Regions from separate parts of the Homo sapiens genome. Here region 1 is linked to region 2. Evidence: promoter capture Hi-C in human tissues and cell types (Jung and others, 2019). All regions are on one chromosome and are shown on one strand. The core of a region is centred on a gene start or on the middle of the fragment in contact, and the rest is flanking DNA. Distances in the headings are between cores, read along the strand shown. Region 1 has its middle 64 kb from the start of EYA2. Region 2 holds the start of EYA2 (EYA transcriptional coactivator and phosphatase 2).

Region 1 (4,942 bases), core at 1,098-3,597, 64 kb after region 2:
AGGGAATCCATGAGATCAAAGCTATTTTTGTTTTGATATAACAAAAGATGTGATTTGCCTTTTCAAACTCTCATCTCTCACAAGTGCGCAGTGGGGTTTTCCAGAGGCTTCATGACATGTGGTGATGTCATCCTCCTGATATTAACATGTAATGGGTTTGTTCTTGTTCTTTTCACGTGAATGAATGAATAAATAGTTTTAAAATTTCTCAGGGTAAATTCCTATTATGGTAAAAAGCAACAGACAAAAGCCACATAAACAAAAACTCTTTGAGGTCTTCTATAATTTTTAAGAGCGTCAAGCAGGTAATGAGGCCAAAGGCCTTGAGAACGCCTTCCCTAAAAATGACCTATTGCATTCATGAATGAAGAAGTAAATTGCGTTGCAAGTTCAGGGAGAGAAATAAAACTGTTGTTGAGCCATGGTTTTCGGGGAAGATTTCTCATGGTTGAGGTAGAGCTCCACCTGGGTATTGAAAATGCAGATGAGTTTGCTTGGCCATGGGAAGGAAGGTGTTCCAGGAGGGCGGCTCAACACTCGCAAAGGGCAGGCGGTGGGAGGGAATGGGGTGAGGCGAATTGGGGTAGTGAGGATCCCAGCCCGGCTTGAATGGAAGGTAAAGCTTAGAGGAGAGATTCTGGGATCTGTGTTGATGACACTCCCATCCCTCAGTGGTCTCTGAAGCCAACTTAGAGGCCCCATTGGCCAGAGAACCAAATAGTTTGGTTTGCACTCCCAGAATGCTCCCTCCCCTGCTCCTGGGAGCTGGGACCTCACCCATGGGTCCCCCATGGGGTGGGAGTCCGTAGTCAACCACAGAGCTGAGCAAAATCTAAACTGTTTCTTTTCTTTGGAAGGCCTCTAGAAACAGGAAGAAAGGCTGTTTTCTAGGATTTGCCAAGAGTTAAGTCATTCCTCACTGATACAAACAATTTCTCCAGTTACTCTTTGGGGCCCAGGAACATTCATGAACTGTGCAGGGTCTGAACTCTTCAACTCTGAACTTCAGTCCCCTGGGTCATCTGCTGGGGCTGGGGCACAGCTCTCTGGCCCTGCCTGGGTTTTAGAGACATGGCCAAGCCACAGAGTGGGCGAGACAAGGCCTCCTCCACGGAGTCCTCAGAGAAATTCTCACCCAGAGCTATGGTGGGGGGTAGGCTGAGTTCAGTCTTTCTCCTGAGTTAGCTCACTGGATGCCAGGTTTCCAGATGCACGTAGCCAGGCACTTCATAGGTGAGGTTATGCACGGGTGTAGAGGCAAAGAGAGTGCATGAAGTCAGGAAAGCAATATGTATTGAATTCGATATGATGTGCCATTCCCTGTCCTGAGCACTTTGCATGTATTATCTCACTTAATTCTCATAACCACCTGTAGAACGTAGTTAGTGGTTAACAACAGTGTCTCCGGAGCCATCTGCCTGAGTTTGTGTCCTGGTTCTGCCATGTGGCAGATCATATTTTGCAGGATGGCTGCAACAATATCTTCCATTCCATGTGCTCTTCTGCAATGGAGCCTCCTTCCGTCTAGAGTTGGGGTCTATGTCCCCTTCTTTTGAATCTGGGTGACTTGCTTGTAACCAGTGGAATGTGGCAGAAGTTAACTATGGGACTTCCAAGGCTAGGTCAGAAAAGGCAGTGCTGTTCCCTTTTGTTTGCTGGAACATTCTTGCTGGAGTTTAAGCCATCATGTAAGAAGTGCCCTGAGGCTTCCATGTTGTGAGGAAGCCCAAGCACATGGAGAGGCTGTGGCCAGATGGGGAGGCCGTGTGTAGGTGATCTGGTCAGTTGGCAGTCCCAGCTGAGTTTAGTGTTAGAGTCATCTTTTTTCAGGTGCCAGATTTGTGAGTGATTTTTAGATTCTTGCTGTTGACTCATCTCTAGCCTTCAAGTCTTCTCATGTGAGGTCCCAGACACTGCAGAGCACAGAGAAGCCATCCCCGCTATGTCCCTTCTGAATCCCCAACTCATAGTAAACTTGAGGACAATGGAATGGTTGTTTCATGTCACTAAGTTTGGTGTAGTTTTTATACAGAAATAATAACTAAAGTGTGCCACTGCTGTGTGACCTTGGGCGAGTTACTTTACCTTTCTGAGTCTGGGGTTGCTGATCAGGAAAATGAAGATGATTATGTACACTCCAGAGAGATCTGGGGACAGTTAGACTAGACAACGAAACTCAGTTCTTAGTACAGTACCGGGTGCACAGTCAAGTGTTCAATAAAGTTTTTATTGTTGTTTGTTGAAGTCTCCTTGATAAATAGATATAAGGATAGGAAAGAAATTGCATTCTATCCCATAGTTCCTTCCTTCTGCTCTGCTCCAGTGCTGGGGCCAGAGAGGGAAGGTAAATAAGTTAAATATGCCTCTTTCTTTCTTATCTCTCTCTCTCTCTTCCTCAGTCTTGCTCTGTCACCCAGGCTGGAGTGCAATGGTGTGATGGCTTACTATAACCTCCAACTCCTGGACTCAAGTGATCCTCTCACCTCTGTCTCCCTAGTAGCTGGGACCACAGGCATGCACCACCACACCCTGCTAATTTTTAAAATATTTTTTAGACATAGGGCCTCACCATGTTGGCCAGGCTGGTCTCAAACTCCTGGCCTCAGGCGATCCCTCTGCCTCAGCCTCTGAAAGTGCTGGGATTACAGGTGTGGGCTGCCATACCCGGCTATGTTAATTGTTAATATGCAGAAATGTGGCTCCAGTGTCATTAGGTCTTCGAATTTTTCAAGAGAGCCATAAGTCCATATTTTATGTGAAATTTCCAGATTCTTAAAAAAAAGTTTAGTGGTTCAAATAAGCATATCAGTGAGCCACTTTGAGGTGTCGGCTTTAGTGACAGTGTGGTTCTGGGTTACCCGCTATGTTCAGGGCCAGTGGGAGACAAGGTCCCTGTTTCCCACTAGTGCCCCTCTAAGACACTACCCATCCCTGCTGTGACATTTGCCACACTTCCGATTCTATGTGGGCCCCACTGGGCAATTCCAAACCACCTGTTTAGATCACAGTTTCTCAACCTTCTATAATCTTTTAAAATTTATTACTCTCCTAAGGAGGTTTTTTAGGCTTTTTTTTTTTTCTTAATCACCTCCCACCATGAAATCTTAATCCACAAATATTTTGTATATCTCTTTAGGTACTGAATGTATATCTGTACTTCAGACATAAAATAATGTGATTTTTTTTTACCCCAATTGTGCATACTCAGTGTGTGTGTGTGGCAGGGGCAGAGGGAGTATGGCCCCCAAGGGGTTAAAAGCTGATTCTTGGGGCCATAAAAACACACATATTCTTTTTATATATAAAACACAGATATACATTTCATAAAATGAGATAGAGTATATCTGTGGTATTAAAATTTCATGGGGGAGGAGGTGGAACTAAGGGAAAAAAAGTCTTATAAGACTTCTTAGGCTGGGCACGGTAGCTCACCCCTGTAATCCCAGCACATTGGGAGACTGAGGCAGAAGTATCACTTGAGGCCAGGAGTTTGAAACCCGCCTGGCTAACGTGGTGAGACCCTGTCTCTAATAAAAATACAAAAATTATCAGGGCATGGTGGTGCATGCCTGCAGTCCCAGCTACTCGGGAGGCTGAGGCAGGAGAATTGCTTGAACCCAGCAGGTGGAGGTTGCAGTGAGCTGAGATGGCACCACTGCACTCCAGCCTGGGCGACAGAGTGAGATTTCGTCTAAAAAAAAAAAAAGGAAGCCCCAAATATTCAAAGCATTTTATTTATGCTAAAAATAATACATTCAAGTGGTTCAAAATTCAAACAGTAGGCTCTTTTTACTCTCTATCATCCTACTCCATCCCTCAACTAAGTAACTATTCCCCCTCCCCAGAGACAATATTGTTACCAGTTTCTTGGGAATCTGTTATTTTCCTGTTGTTGCTGTAACAAACTGCCACAAATTTAGTAGCTTAAAACAACCCACATTTCTTTTTCTTTTTCTTTTTTTTTTTTTTGAGACGAGTCTTGCTCTTTTGCCCAGGCTGGACTGCAGTGGCAGCATCTCGGCTCACTGCAACCTCCACTGCCTGGGTTCAAGTGATTCTCCTGTCTCAGCCTCCCAAGTAGCTGGGATTACAGGCACCTGCCACCATGCCCAGTTAATTTTTGTATTTTTAGTAGAGACGGGGTTTCGCCATGTTGGCCAGGCTGGTCTCAAACTCCTGACCTCAGGTAATCCACCCGCCTCAGCCTCCCAAAGTGCTAGGATTACAGGCACGAGCCACCGCACCCGGACTATTATTTTTCAGTTCTGTAGGTTAGACGTCTGACTTGGGTCTCACCGACTAAAATCAAGGTGTCATCGGAGCTGTGCTCCTTTGTGGAAGCCCGGTGAAGGACCCATTTCCTTCTCTTTCCCAGTCTCTAGAGTCCACCTGTGTTCCTCCTCATAACCTGCTTCCATCTTCAAAGCCAGCCCTGGCCAACTGAGTCTTCTTCACGTTGCCTCCCTCTGACATTCTCTTCTACCTCCGTTTTCCATATATCCTTCCAGTTACCCTTGTGATTACACTGAGCCCAACCTACATAACCCAGGATAATCTCCTGATCTGCAGGTCAACTGATTACCAACCTTAATTCCATCTGCAACCTTAATTCCTCCTTGCCATAAAACCTAACATTTTCAAAGGCTCCAGGGATCAGGACACGGATATCTTTAGGGGGCTGTTAACTCTGCCTGCATCGCATCAGCAGATAATCTGTACATACAAATAAGTATTTTCATTTAAACCCTAATAAAAAGCAGTACTGTAAACTCAAATGTGGTACATACCTAATTTTAACCTACTGGAATGTATAGCCTATTAACTGCCTTGGATCATGACCATCATTTATTTTTAAGGAAATAGAATGCATAGCACATAATAAAACTAAGTATTGCTTCATGAAACTTTTGTTTCAGTCTTTTGTGGGTGAGTGCATATGTGT
Region 2 (5,207 bases), core at 1,887-4,386:
GCACGTGACACCAATCCTTCTCCCCAAGCCTTTGCACACACACACACAGCATACACCTAAGACCTGAAGACACTGCCTAATACTTATAATTGATTCTCCCCCAAGCATCTTTGTATGAAGGAGGCCTGCCCAGCAAAGACAAAACTCTACCCCAGTCGCAACTTCCACTCCTCCGCTCTGCGATCATGTGCGTGGATACTTAGGAAAGGCATGTGTCTAAAGAAGGCACCTCCACTCCCTTCATTTTCTCCTGACAGCCACAGGCTCTCTTCTCTCTCTGCCCAGAAAGGCATCTGTCATAAGCGGCTGGGAACCTCACTTATTCACCATTACGGCCTGCGATTTTATTATACAAGGAGTTTACTGCTGGCCTAATTAGTTTCAAACTGGGCATTCCAGCTGAGGACACCTAAAAAACATCTGGTGGAAGGAGAGAGAATGAGTCCTCGCTCTGAGCTGGTTACGGTTGGATTTCTGCATAACTCTGCTCTCTTGCGCCCGATGCAAGTTGTCTTTGGAAAAGTAACTGAAAAAATAAGGAAACGGTTTCTTCTTTGTGGGAAAGGAGTCATCTTGTCACGGAGGATCCAACAACGTCTTAAAGTGGACGTGCTTGGACTGTGTATATTTTTTCACAAACGGCTGGGGTCTCCATAGCTTGCTCACCCTAATTCAAAATGTACTTAGCTACACCACAGAGCCTTTTTGCTGAGGGCTTTTCCATTCTCCCAACAGCAGCTAGCATTTTATCAATTTATCCATCTGGAACAAGGTTTGCAATCTCTTACACGCAATTTAAAGCAGAAGTAATACCACATATTTGAAACAGCGTGTCTTGGGCGTTTTTGCCAAATGGTAATCCTATAACAAGTCAACAAATCATACCTCTTTATGATGTGTTTAATGCAAAACAAAAGACATGAAAAGAAGATTCTAAAACTTACGTGATGAAAACTTTTTAAAAAAATCCTAAAGTATTGAGATACACATCTTTTTATTTTATTTTATATTTCCTTTAGTTTTTCTGATATTGGGGAAGTGATTTGTGTGTTTATAGAGTATTCTCATACACATGGTCACAACACCAGGTGAGCTATTTTAAGACAGAAAAGAAAAATGCCAATTCCTTTCAGATAAAATAGTGAATGATATTGTGAAGCTGAAGTTACAAGAGAATGGGGACATATAAACTGCTTTAAAGTAAAAAAAAGTTCAGGCTCTTTTGCATCTAACCACATTGGTCTTTTCACAATGGCAAAAGTTAAGAGTTTGCTACGAAGGCAAGGAGATTTTTTTTAATACAAACACAATTTAATGCTTAGTCAAAAGCAAGATTCAAACCACTATCATTTGTTATTTGTTATATAAATTATAGAAGAACTTACCCAAGTGTGAGAGTGTCTAAATGCAAAGATATGTAAAGGATGAAGGGGCTTAAGGTGATGAAGAAAGACAAGTGGAAAAAATGAACATTTATTTATCGAGTAAAATTGTGAAAGATTCTTTCACAAAGATTATTTTGAAAAAGAGGTTCTCTCCTCCCACTCTTTCTTTGTGTACCTCTTTTTTTTTTTGTAAGCAGGATGGTTACATGTGTATGTTAGTTGCTAACAAATGGGTCATAGTCTGGTAAGGTGCTTACTAGTTCTGTATCTATTATGGTCACAGACATTTCACTCAATCAAGAAACGGCTCATGAAATTAATAGATTCGGTTTGAAATACAATTGTCCACTGGTTATAATTTCCTTTGTAAGGGATCTCCCTAACTCAAACATAATTCAGTGCTCAAATTCTTACATGATGTTTGTAAATCATCCTCCTGCCCCTCCGCCCTCGCTAACAGCTAGATTCCAATGTTCAGCTCTTCCACTGCACCTCGTAATTAAAAGGTACCTCTTACCGGGGTGATTTATACCTCCACGTTATATTTTAAAAAGTAATTGAAGATTACATAGCATTTCGGGGAAGGGGAAAGAAAAGAAAAGGGTATCCATAAAAACGCAGCATCGGTCTTGCTTTTTAAAAAGAATTCAGACCGCGGCAGGGTGCACGCTGTCAACTCTCAGCCTCGGCTTCGGGGAAGCAGGAACCTCGCACTGCAAAAGGCGCTTCCAGTTCAACAGCTGAGAAAAGCGCACTGAGTCTTTTGCGATAGGAGTACGTTCACCAGTCACGCTTTCCTAGTATTCCTTGAGCTTATAAACTATTTATTGCTGGGGGGGAGGCAGGCAGGAATATATTGAAGGAGCCTGGGCCAGCACGGCCGTTTAACCTCCAGACTTCATGACTAAAAAACAATTCCATTTCCCACTTTCTCCCATTACAACGAAATCCTTGCCGCCTTCTAAACACCCTTCGGATGTAAACTTTTCTAAGTTTCAACTCTACCCGCAGCAGGCGCCAGGATTCCCTGCCCCGGTTCAAAGCCCCAGACCTGAACCAGAGCGGGCCGAGCGCAAACGGACTTTTGAAAAGAAATATATCAATAGCTAGAAGGCAAAGTCTCAGCGGGCCGTTCCAGCCCCAAGCCGGGATTCCAGCGGTTGGCTCTGCTTCTTGGTTATCCCATAAACACTACCTGAGGGCTTGAGTTTGCGGACTGGGGGAGCGCCCCTTATCGCGAACCGCCGGGACCATAATCGAACAAAACGCCAAGGACCCAGCCGCGTCTACACCGCCTGCGCGCCATGCACTTGTCCCGCGCGCGGGAGAGCAAACTTCAGGGTCGTTGCCCCAAAGCGCATGGGGAAACTGGGGCCCCGAGCCTGGGAGAGCCTTTCCAGAGGGGGGCTCTGCTGCTGTCCCCTCTGCCCTTGTGCCTTCCTGGCCCTGGGAGGCCCGTGCGCCCCAGAACGTCCCGACAGCTGCGGAGGCCCCGCTTGGCGAGTGCCAGAAAGAGGCGCAGGGCGAGGGGGTCCCGGTGAACAACTCCCCCCGCCCGGCGAATCCCGGCGGGCGGCCTGGGGTGGGCGCCGCTGGCGGTACTCACCGCGCGCAGTGGAGAGGGCGCCCCGACGCGGTGCGGGCGGGCGGGCGGGCCGGTGCGGGTCCGACGAGGCCGGGCTGACTGCGGCGGGCACGTTGCTGTCTCTGCCGTTGCCGCTGCCTCCGCCTCCTGGGCTGCCGCGGCTGCTGCCTGCGCCGGGAGGACCGGCCCCTTCTCCTCCCTGGGCCGGGCCCTCCCTCTGCCCCCGCCCGGGTCCCCGCGCCGCTGCGTGGGCGCGTGGGGGCGCCGAGGCGCGACGCTGGGCTACGCGGGCGCACACACCCGGCGGCTGGACGCAGGGCGCGGGGCTCTGGCCCAGCACGTGCCGCCGCGCCGCTTCCTGAGCCTGCAGCCGAGCAGAGCGCGCTCACTCTCGCCGGTCCTGGAGGCCAGGGCCCAGCCTCCTCCCCACCCACCGACACCCCGCACCTCCTCCCTCCCCGGGGCAGCACATCCTCCCTGCAACCCAGGCATGACCCCTGTGAAAGGAACGACGGCTCGGAGAGGACCTCAATAGTGACACTAACATTCGTTCACTCAACCACCCATTCATTCATTCAAAATATATTGAGCATCTACTGTGCCAGGTACCACTCCTGAGAGACTCAGCTAGAACAAGACAGACTAGTTTTCTGCCCTCCCGGAACTTGCATTCACATGGAGAGGCAAACCATAAACAAATAACCAAGTAAAGAAGCAAGACAGTTTCAGAAAGTTAGAGTTACAGGGAGAAAAATAATATATGTATCTGCTGTTGGGGAGTGGAGGAGAGGCGGTAATTTTAGCTAGAGCAGTCAGGGAAGACCTCTCTGAGGAGGTGACATCTGAATTATGAGGAAGTGCCATTGGTGTGGTATTTAGGTGAGAACGGTTCAGGGGTCTCCCCTATGTTTCACCCATTTTACAGCTAAGGAAACTGAGGTCTCAAGAGCTTAACTGGTTTAGTGAAAGTGAGAGGTATAGCCCCCTCCACCTACATGCCCAAATCAAGGCACCCCACTTACTCCATCCTCTCATAGCCACCCCCCTTTTAGTCTCCCTGGCAATGAACTGTGTTAATTGGAGTCTATGCAGCCTTTCCTAGCCCGTCACCCACTCTCTAATGTCTATGAATTCCACCGTGGGACACCCAGGATGCTTCAATCCAAAAGCAATATCAACCACTGTCATTTCTTAAGTGCAGTAAAAGACAGGGCACCCAGGTGAATTTGAATTTCAGAGAAACGAGGAATCAGTTGCAGTATATGTCTTATGCGATTGGTTGTACGTACTTATATTTAAAAAGTATTTCTTTTGTCTCCGAAATTCCAATGTAACCGGGGGTCCTATATTTTTATTTGCAACCTTAAGCTCATCCAATGCCCAACTCTTCCTTATCTCATGTAATCCCCAAGAGAGACCCCAAGGTAGCTGCTGTCAGCACACTCATTTCACAAATGAGCAGGTCCAAGCTCAAAGAAGGCAGAAAGTGGCTGAGCCAGGAATGAAATTCAGGCCTGGCTGACTCCAAAGCCGTTGCTCTTGAGCCGTAACAGTCTTCAATTCCAGTTGTAAGTTTACAGGAGCTGATGAAGGTTAAGTTCTTGGGCCCCTGACTTGCTTGGACCCCTTTCTAAGGGGACTTAGAAAAGTGTTCAGATGGTGGCTTGTTGATGTAAAGTTTACAAAAGTCCTTTGCTTTGGACATTTGGCTGCAGGCCGTAGACACCGCTGTCTTTCCACTCCGATTCCCCACCCCCAACTTGCCCTTGAGTAGGGTGGTGTCAGGTGGCTGCTGGCATTTTGGAGGAAAGTTGAGTTGGGAATTTTGTGATGTTTGTGGTAATTTTCAGCTTCTTAAAATTTGAATTTGTTGTGATTTCTTTTCTTAATTTAAAGAAATAATCATTTTCTTATCTAATCTTGGACTCATAATTTTGTACTCTTTTTCTTGAATAGGGGCTGCAAATTATACATGTATCAGGCCTCACCATTCCCAGACCCACCTCTGGTCATAGCTTACTCCGCTTTCTACTCCCCAAACTTCAGACAGAAGCAAATGTATTCAGTAAACATGGTTGTTCTCTTCTCTGGGCCTGCCGCAGTAGGCTTGGAGATGGCTCTGCTTCTGTCTTCTAGAGGCAGAATGTACATATGTACTTGGCCTTGATTTTCTCATCACTAAAGTGAAAATAACAGTACTCATCTTATACTATTATTGTGAAAATTCATGGAGCTCA

What was found. Contacts are between HindIII fragments. The study calls those that stand out against the background at their distance.
Region 1: a contact is called between a fragment that was not itself captured here and the fragment with the promoter of EYA2 in region 2, in 6 of the 25 tissues and cell types used here (IMR-90 fibroblasts, lymphoblastoid cells, neural progenitor cells and 3 more).

The regions. Positions count from the first base shown.
Region 1 is chr20:46,828,742-46,833,683 of GRCh38, reverse strand. No RefSeq gene overlaps it. Among named protein-coding and RNA genes, the nearest start is that of EYA2, 64 kb to the left of the region's middle. The HindIII fragment of the contact is 8,791 bases long and covers 1-4,942 here.
Region 2 is chr20:46,892,772-46,897,978 of GRCh38, reverse strand. EYA2 (EYA transcriptional coactivator and phosphatase 2) reads right to left here and starts at 3,136. Exons shown (of 16, transcript NM_005244.5): 1 at 2,992-3,136. The HindIII fragment of the contact is 22,949 bases long and covers 1-5,207 here.